3 separate regions of the Homo sapiens genome follow, and all the other regions are linked to region 3. The links are contacts of gene promoters, found by promoter capture Hi-C in blood cells and fetal thymus (Javierre and others, 2016). All regions are on one chromosome and are shown on one strand. Each heading gives the region's core, a stretch centred on a gene start or on the middle of the fragment in contact. The rest is flanking DNA. Distances are from core to core; before and after follow the strand shown.

What was found. The method cuts DNA at HindIII sites, captures the fragments that hold promoters and counts their contacts. A CHiCAGO score of 5 or more calls a contact.
Region 1: a contact is called between the fragment with the promoter of COX6B2 here and the fragment with the promoter of TNNT1 in region 3, in 7 of 17 cell types (non-activated CD4 T cells, activated CD4 T cells, total CD8 T cells and 4 more). The highest score is 7.7, in non-activated CD4 T cells.
Region 2: the fragment with the promoter of TMEM150B here is called in contact with the fragment with the promoter of TNNT1 in region 3 in 3 of 17 cell types (erythroblasts, naive CD4 T cells and total CD4 T cells); the score reaches 9.4 in erythroblasts.

The regions. Positions count from the first base shown.
Region 1 is chr19:55,353,395-55,356,094 of GRCh38, forward strand. It overlaps COX6B2 (cytochrome c oxidase subunit 6B2), which reads right to left and starts at 1,325. Exons shown (of 5, transcript NM_144613.5): 1 at 1,256-1,325; 2 at 1,016-1,145; 3 at 472-572; 4 at 213-380. The coding sequence starts at 1,127. The coding sequence ends at 327. GARIN5B (golgi associated RAB2 interactor family member 5B) reads right to left here. Exons shown (of 11, transcript NM_001145402.2): 10 at 1,866-1,951; 11 at 1,514-1,701. The coding sequence ends at 1,906. RefSeq lists silencers at 640-749, 860-909. The HindIII fragment of the contact is 2,438 bases long and covers 1-1,528 here.
Region 2 is chr19:55,324,051-55,326,750 of GRCh38, forward strand. TMEM150B (transmembrane protein 150B) reads right to left here and starts at 1,291. Exons shown (of 8, transcript NM_001282011.2): 1 at 1,222-1,291. The HindIII fragment of the contact is 16,718 bases long and covers 1-2,700 here.
Region 3 is chr19:55,147,941-55,150,640 of GRCh38, forward strand. TNNT1 (troponin T1, slow skeletal type) reads right to left here and starts at 1,266. Exons shown (of 14, transcript NM_003283.6): 1 at 1,221-1,266. The HindIII fragment of the contact is 19,232 bases long and covers 1-2,700 here.

The sequences.
Region 1 (2,700 bases), core at 75-2,574, 210 kb after region 3:
TGGAATGGAGAGGGAGAAGGGGGACGGGAGGCATTCGGCTTCCTGTCTTAGGGCCTTGACTGCCTGCTGCTACCTGATGGAGCAGCAGTCCCCCACCTGCCCCTTATCGGAAAAAGCAGCGTTAGCCCGGACACAGGCACACGGAGGATCCCCACCACCACCACGACGCATCGCTGGCTGGGCATTAAGAAGAAACATCAGCAACAGCATACCATTATTCGTGGCTTAGACACTGGGAGGTAGGGGTGGATAACCGAGACCCGGGGCTCCGCGAGACAAAAAGATGCAGGATCACTGCATCTTCAGAGGAAGCCGCGCTGGGGCAGTCAGATTTTGCCGGCGAAAATCCCGTTCTTGATCTGCTCGTTCCAGCTCTCCACCTGGGAAGCAGAAAGGCAGGGAGCGGGACGCCGGCTCAGCCTCGGCCGAGCCCTGCACACGCCTGGCCCGGCGCCCCCTCTGCCGACTCACCCAGCTGATGGGGCACAGCGAGTGGTACACGCGGAAATAGTACTCGCAGGGCTGCGTGCTCTTCCCGCGGCGGGTCCTGGTCTTGAGGCAGCGGTGGTAGTCTGTGGCGGGCGGGGGTCACGCGGCAAGCCACGCCCATTCCAGGACAGGACCCGCCCCTCCACTGCTCGGGCCCTCCCAGTTCTTCGCTGCTTCGTCCCGCCTCCCTCTCCCCTGGAGGCCTCCGTCCCGCCCCTCCCAGCCAGGCCCCGACCCCTACCTCCCTCACACTGCTCCTCCTACCCAGACCCTGCCCCTACCTACCTCGCCCCGCACCTTCACGACTCGGCCCCGCACCTTCCAGATCAGGCCTCGCCCCTACCAACCTCGCCCCGCCCCTCCAGGCTCAGCCCCGCCTTTTCTCGACCAGGCCCCGCCCCCACCAACCCGGCCCCGCCCGGCCTCCCACCCTAACGGTCTCCGCGGGACTTAGGGTGGGAGTGCCCCTCCCTGCCGTCCCTTGTCACACCCTGCTCCTCCCATAACCTGGCTGAGCAGGTCTCACCCAGGAAGTTCTGGTAGCAGTTACGGATCTGGTTCTGGCTGGGGAAGCGCGGGTCGAAGGGCGGCGTCGACCATTTCCCCTTGGGGGGCTCCTGGGCTTCCACATCCAACATCCACGAAGGAGGCAACTCCTGCGAGACGGGACGGGACGGGGACTCCGTGGGGCCGAGGGGGCGCCCTCGCTCCGACCCGTCTCCCCATCCTGACCCCCGCCCCTGAACCCCACCCGTCGTGCCCTCACCAGCCTGACGTTGGCGGCCACTGGATCTGCTGTGGGATGGTCCCGGGGTGCCGCTCGCTTCTGAGTCCGCGGGGTGCGGTCCCACCCGGGTCAGGAGAAACGCACCCCGCGGCCGGATTGGCTAGGACGCCCGAGCCCCAGCCAATGGGAGCCGTCGTGCACCGCGGGGCTGGTAGGGGCGCCCCCACCCCACCCCTTGCTCCCCCGACGCCCCCTCGGGGGCCTGCGCGTGCACACAGGCACCGAGGTGCGACTCGCTGAGTCTCAGGCTCAAGCTTTAATCTCTGCGAAGTTGGGCGGCTCCACGGGCTCGCCCCCGCCCCCCCCCGCCCCCCAATATATAAAGGCATATCCATAGTTCTGGTATCTACCAGAGGGGGCAAATCCCCCCAAGCGGCTTTCAACATTCCGCTTCCTACAGTCGGTGCGCACAGAACCCTCGGGGCCTGTGGGGTTAAGAGGAAAGAGCAGCGGTGGGGTCCGGGCTCCTGGGAACCCCCCCGCCCCCCTCGTCCTCCCCCCTCCGTTACCCGCCCCCCCCACCCTCCTCCCTCGCCCCCCTCCCCCCGCCCCCAGGTCTAAGGCAGATCTCCAGGGTCTTAAAGGGTACCTGGCAGCGCTGGGCTCCTCTGGACAGTTTCCAACTGAGGTTAAGCCCCCGCATCCGGCCACTCGGAGTGCTGGGAGTGCTGCAGGCTGCAGGGAGAAAGCAAGCCAGAGAGAGCTTTGGGGGACAGGGTAGGGAGAGAGGGGTACCCAGGGCTTTAAGAGCTGCAGATGCCTGGCTTAGGAGAGCGTCCCCCAGGGCGGGTCTTGCTGTGTGTTTGGCTCACTGTTGTATCTGCCTGGGGCAGAGTCTGGCAGTAGTAAATGCACAATAAATCCGAGGCGGAATCAATGAGTCTTGGCTCTAGGGGCAGACAAGTAACTGGAATCTGGGCAGGTGGTTTCACCTCTAGATCCCTGCTAAGCTTCTCTCCCTCCTGCCTGGTTAATATCAGGCCTGACTCAGGATTGTTTACACTGACAGCCAAATGTACGAATTAAGAATCCCGGCCAGGTGCGGTGGCTCATGCCTGTAATCCTAGCATTTTGTGGGGCAGAGGCGGGAGGATTGCTTGAGTCCAGGAGTCTGAGACTAGCCTGGACAACATGGTGAAACCCCATCTCTACAAAAAATACCAAAATTAGCCAGGCGTGTTGGTGCGTGCCTGTGGTTCCAGCTACTGAGGAGGCTGAGGCAGGAGAATCACCTGAGCCTGGGTAGCTTGAGGCTGCAGTGAGCTGTGATGGCATCACTGCACTTCAGTCTGGGCAACATGTGAGACCTCTTTTCTACAAAAAAATCAAAAACTTGGCTGGGCTTTTGGAGGCTGAGGCAGGAGGATCACTTGAGCCCAGGAAGATAAAGGCTGCCATGAGCCACGATCACACCGCTGCACTCT
Region 2 (2,700 bases), core at 41-2,540, 180 kb after region 3:
CCCTGCCTCAGCCTCCCAAAGTGCTGGGATTACAGGCGGAAGCCATCGCGCCCAACCCGTCTGGTGTATTTTATGCTCAGTGTAATGTTTTTGAGATTCATCCATGTTGTGGCATGTATTAGTGTTTCATTCCTTTATTTTTTATTTTTATTTTTTAAACAGCCAGGGTCGGCTGGGCAAGGTGGCTGACGCCTGTAGTCCCAGCACTTTGGGAGGCTGAGGCAGGTGGATCACCTGAGGTCAGGAGATCGAGACCAGCCTGGCCAACATGGTGAAAACCTGTCTCTACTAAAAATACAAAAAAAAATTAGCTGGGTGGCCGGGCATGGTGGCTCACGCCTGCAATCCCAGCACTTTGGGAGGCCGAGGTGGGCAGATCATGAGATCAGGAGTTTGAGACCAGCCTGGCCAACATAGTGAAACCCCGTCTCTACTAAAAATACAAAAATTAGCCGGGTGTGGTGGCAGGCACCTGTAATCCCAGCTACTCGGGAGGCTGAGGCAGGAGAATCGCTTGAACCCAGGAGGCGGAGGTTGCAGTGAGCCGAGATCGCACCACTGCATTCCAGCCTGGGCGACAGAGTGAGACTCCGTCTCCAAAAATAAATAAAATAAAATAAATAAATAAAATAAAAAATAAATCCTGTCCCAGTGGGGCTGATAGAGGGCAAAGCTCTCCAAGTCCTCCTCACCCCTTCTGCTGCCAAATGCCTCTCCTCTGGGTCTCGTCTTCCTCCTTTCGCTTCTTTTTCCGGAGGTCTCCGTTTGCCCAGACATGAATCTGAGCCACCCCCTGCCCTCAGGGGAATCCCTGTCTGTGGGCAACACAGATGATCAGCAGGTGACAGCTCCTCTAAAGGAAGTCACACAAAGCTATGAGGGAGCCCAGGGGAGGGAGGGGTCCATGCTACCTGCTCCTCCGTCGGCCCTCAACACTGATCTCCTGCCCTGCCCTGTCCTGTGTTTGCCACCTGGCTGATTCCCACTTCTCTTCCAAAAACATAATAATAATAAAGACGAGAAAGCCCAGGTGATCCTAAGGAAGACTTGTCCCCGCTCTGAGCCTCCATACCCAACTCGGTGTCCTGGCACAAAGATGAGTTTGGCTCACTGGTGTCCCCACGGTGCTTATGTGACCTGCTTGGACCCTCCCTGGGAGGACAGGGGACAGGGCTCCAGCCTGCCGAGCTACTTTCAAGTTGGGAATTAGGCCCCACTCACCGGCCACGGGTAGGTTGGGTGTCTGGAGCCTGAAGGATCCTTCCAGAAGCTAGGGCTGCTGGCCTGGCTCAGCCGAGGGGAAGAGGCTGTGCTTTTCCTCTGAGAAAGATGACGTTGCACTTTCATATTGAGGAAACCGCTTGTGGTTGGTGGTGGGGACTGGTTTTTATTTTTATTTTTATTTTTTTATTTTATTTTTTATTTTTGAGACGGAGTTTCGCTCTTGTTGCCCAGGCTGGAGTGCAATGGCGCGATCTCAGCTGACCGCAACCTCTGCCCCCGGGTTCAAGCGATTCTCCTGCTCAGCCTCCCAAGTAGCTGGAATTACAGTCATGCACCACCACACCCGGCTAATTTTGTATTTTTTTAGTAGAAACAGGGTTTCTCCATGTCGGTCAGGCTAGTCCCAAACTCCTGACATCCGGTGTTCCACCCGCCTCGGCCTCCCAAGTGCTAGGATTACAGGCGTGAGCCACCGCGGCCGGCCTATTTTTATTTTTATATCCCTAGATGTCTATGTCCCCTGCCTGGAAGTTTCCCCAGAGAGGGGATGTAGACGTCTAGGAACACAGAGGTCTCAGAACCTTCCCCAGGGAGGGGATGTACACCTCTAGAGATAGATGGGTCTCGGACCTCTGTTTTCTTGTCTGCAAAACAGGGATCATGATGGTCTGCCCTCGTGCAATTGTGAGGGTTTATTGGGGTTATCCACATAAGACCCTAAAAGAATGCCTGTCTGACCGGGCCCGGTGGCTCACGCCTGTAATCCCAGCATTTTGGGAGGCTGAGGCGGGTGGATCACCTGAGGTCATGAGTTCGAGACCAGCCTGGCCAATATGGCGAAACCCCGTTTCTACTAAAAATACAAAAATTAGCTGGGCATGGTGGCGGGCGCCTGTAATCCCAGCTACTCAAGAGGCTGAGGCCGGAGAATCGCTTGAATCCAGGAAGTGGAGGTTGCAGTGAGTCGAGATTGTGCCACTACACTCCAGCCCGGACGACAAGAGCGAAACTCCCTCTCAAAAAAACAAAAAAGAAAGAAAGAAAAGAAAAGCAAGAGATTGACTGGGGATGAGGTTGCTGAAGGATAAAGGAGGAGAAAGGCCAGGCGCGGTGGCTTAAGCCTGTAATCCCAGCACTTTGGGAGGCCAAGGCAGGCGGATCACGAGGTCAGGAGTTCAAGACCAGCCTGGCCAATATGGTGAAACCCCGTCTCTACTAAAAATACAAAAAAAAAAAGAAAAAAAGAAAAAGGAGGAGAAAGACCAGGAGTGGCTGGGAGAGACTTCAGACTGCAACGTGAGTGGGTCTGGGTCTGACACTGGAGAAAGGAGATGGGGAGAGTGGAAGAATCACAGACCATGTGCAGTTCTGAGAACCCCGGTCAGGTCAGCTGGGAAATGTGGTGCAAAGATCACCCATACGCAAGTCCATGGAGACCGAAAGCAAGTCAGTGGTTGCAAGGGGTGGGAAGAGGGG
Region 3 (2,700 bases), core at 16-2,515:
TGGACTCTTGGGTCTGAGGGAGGGGGCCGGCTGTCCTAAAGCATGCATGAGGACAGACCTTGGTAGGTGTGGTCCTGGCACAGCCAGGAGGCTGCAGACCCTGCCCCCTCAGCACAGCTGTCCTCTTTTGTCTTATGACAAGTCCATGGGAACCTGATCCAGTTGGGATTAGGAAGAGGCATTTGAGAAGGGACAGTGGCCTGAAGACAATAGCTGCCCCACCCCCAGGAGCTATTTTGGGGGGATGTCATAGATGGTGAAACCGAGGACATTTCCTAAGAAGGGATTTGAGGAAGGGGGGCTTCTGGGAGAATTAGTCACCCGCATCCCCTCTCCCACTCGCCCCACCCCACTGGCTGGTTTCCTCCCCACCTGTCTCCCCTTTCACCTTCCCATACATCACGTAGGGGGCAGGGGCATAAAGGGCACCTTCTGTCCGTAGACCTCACCCTGACCCCTACATTCTTAGACCTCAAAGTCTTTGAGACACCCTAGGCCACAGGGTGCCTAGCCCCAAATCCCAATACCCACAGATTCTGAGACCCCGATTTATGATGCCCGTGTTTCTGAGGCCAGCAAGTCCTCACAGCTCTGGATTCTGAAATCCCAGTTCTTGATAGTCCAGATATGGGCCGGGACATCCTAAGACCACCCCCAGGTCTTGAGACCTCCTAAAATCTGAAACCTCAAGAATATGAGACCCCCAAAATCTTGATACCCAAACTCGGAGGCCCAGTTCATGATACCCCAGATAATGGCACTCTAAGTTTTCATGCTTTCTATCATAATGTCTCAGATTCCGAGCCCTCCACTACCAAAACCCCAATTTCTTCTGAGACCCCCCCAATTCCTGATACCCTCAGAGTCTGAGGCCCCAAATCCTGACACCCAGATTGTTTGACCTCCAAGTCCAGATATCCCTGACTGCTGAGATTTCCCCCAGATTCCCAGAACCCCAAGATCCTAGGAGGTTTTATTCTGGGACATCCAAGTCCTGGCAGCCCCGGGTTAGGATTTGTGTAACCCACAAATCCTAGTATTTTCCCCTCTATCCTGAGTCCCCCTAAAGTCTGAGCCTCTCAAGTTCCCAGACCTCCAGTTGTATGCCCCACCTACCTCTGCACCATTTCTCCACACCCGACATCTTCCCCACCTGCCTCCTGCCCCCTCCCCCAAGGACATGGTTTTTGAAGACCACAGGGCTCCGCAGAGCCCCTTACCTAGGCTGTGTCTGAGATGCTGTGAATCTTGAGGCTGAGCCTTGCTGAGGGCACTGAAGCTCCGGGGAGTTTATAGCTGGAGGCTCGGGCCCGCCCCGAGGGGAGAGGGAGGGGGAGAGAATTCCTTTGCTCAAACACAAGCCTGGGAGTTCAGAGACAGCCCTGCTGCCCCTGGCTCCACACTCAGAGTCCAGAAGCCTCCGTGGGCCCCTCCCCAACCCCATGCCAACCCCATCTGCATGGCCCAGGAGCCCCGCCCCTGCTCCCACCCCACACCCCAGGCTCCCGTGGTGCTCCAACTACCTCCCTTATAGCTCCCTGTGCTTTGACGTCCCCATGCCCGGCACACAGTAGGTCCTTGGAGGACCTACTAATGACACATGGGCTATAAGGAATGTTTCCTGTTTTCTTCTCTCTGTTCCCTCTTTCTATCTAGGTCTCTTTCTGGACCCCCATTTCTGTTGTCTCTGTGGCTCTCCATCTGTGTGTCTCTGTGTGTCTGTCTCTACTTCTTAGTCTCCTCCTCTGTCTCTGTCCATCTTTTTGTCTCCTCCTCCCACCCCCACCCCTTTGTCTGCCGCCAGGATTCCATCCTGGTGACAACAGGCACTAAAGCCGGGAAGCAGGTGTGGGGAGGGGGAGGGGGAGGGTGGGGTGTCAATTAGGGTGAAACCTACCCTCCCTCCCCACCTCCATCTAACGCTGATCTTTTTTGGTATCCCCCTCCCGCTTCCCAGCCAAGCCATGACCTTGAGTTCTAGGTTCAAGCCAGCCCTGGAGAGCAGGCTTCCTCACCCTCCCCGCCTCTCCGTACCTCTGTCTCTGGTGGTCTCGGTCTTTGTGTTTCTGTGCATTTCTCGGGGCCCCTTGCTGGGTCTGTCTTGGGCTCTCTCTGCATCTGTCGCTTTCTGAGCCCCTCAGTGTGTTTCTCGGCATGTGTCTCCGGGTGGTTTTGTCTCTGCATTTCTGTGGGTGTCTCTGCATGTCTGCCCCTCTCAGCGTTTGTGTCTGTGGGGGCTCACAGTCTCTCTGTGCATTTCTGTCCACCTATGACCCCATTTCTGTCTCTTTTTGGCTCTGGGTCTCTGTGTCTGTGTTCACGTCTCTATCTTTCTAGTTCTCTCCATGTCTCTCTTAGTGCCCGCAGTTCCCCCTCTGTGGCTCTCCATTTCCATCTCTTATAGGGTCTCCATGTCTCTGCACCTTGCTGTGAGTATATCTCTGTCTCTCTTTTCTCCTTTCTTTGCACTTCCTTCTATGCATCTTGTGGTATTTTCTCCCTCTCTCTTTGGGTCTTTGCCTGGCTCCTACTCTCTCTACTCCCAACTCAGTCTCTCTGTTGTCGGTCATGTCTCTCTGCCTGTCTGTTTCTCTGTGTCTCTCTCTCTTTGACCTTTAGTCTTGGCATCTCTGTGCACTCCACATGGGCCAGAGGAGCTGTGACAATAGAGATCAGAAGACTGATGGAATGAACTGTTTG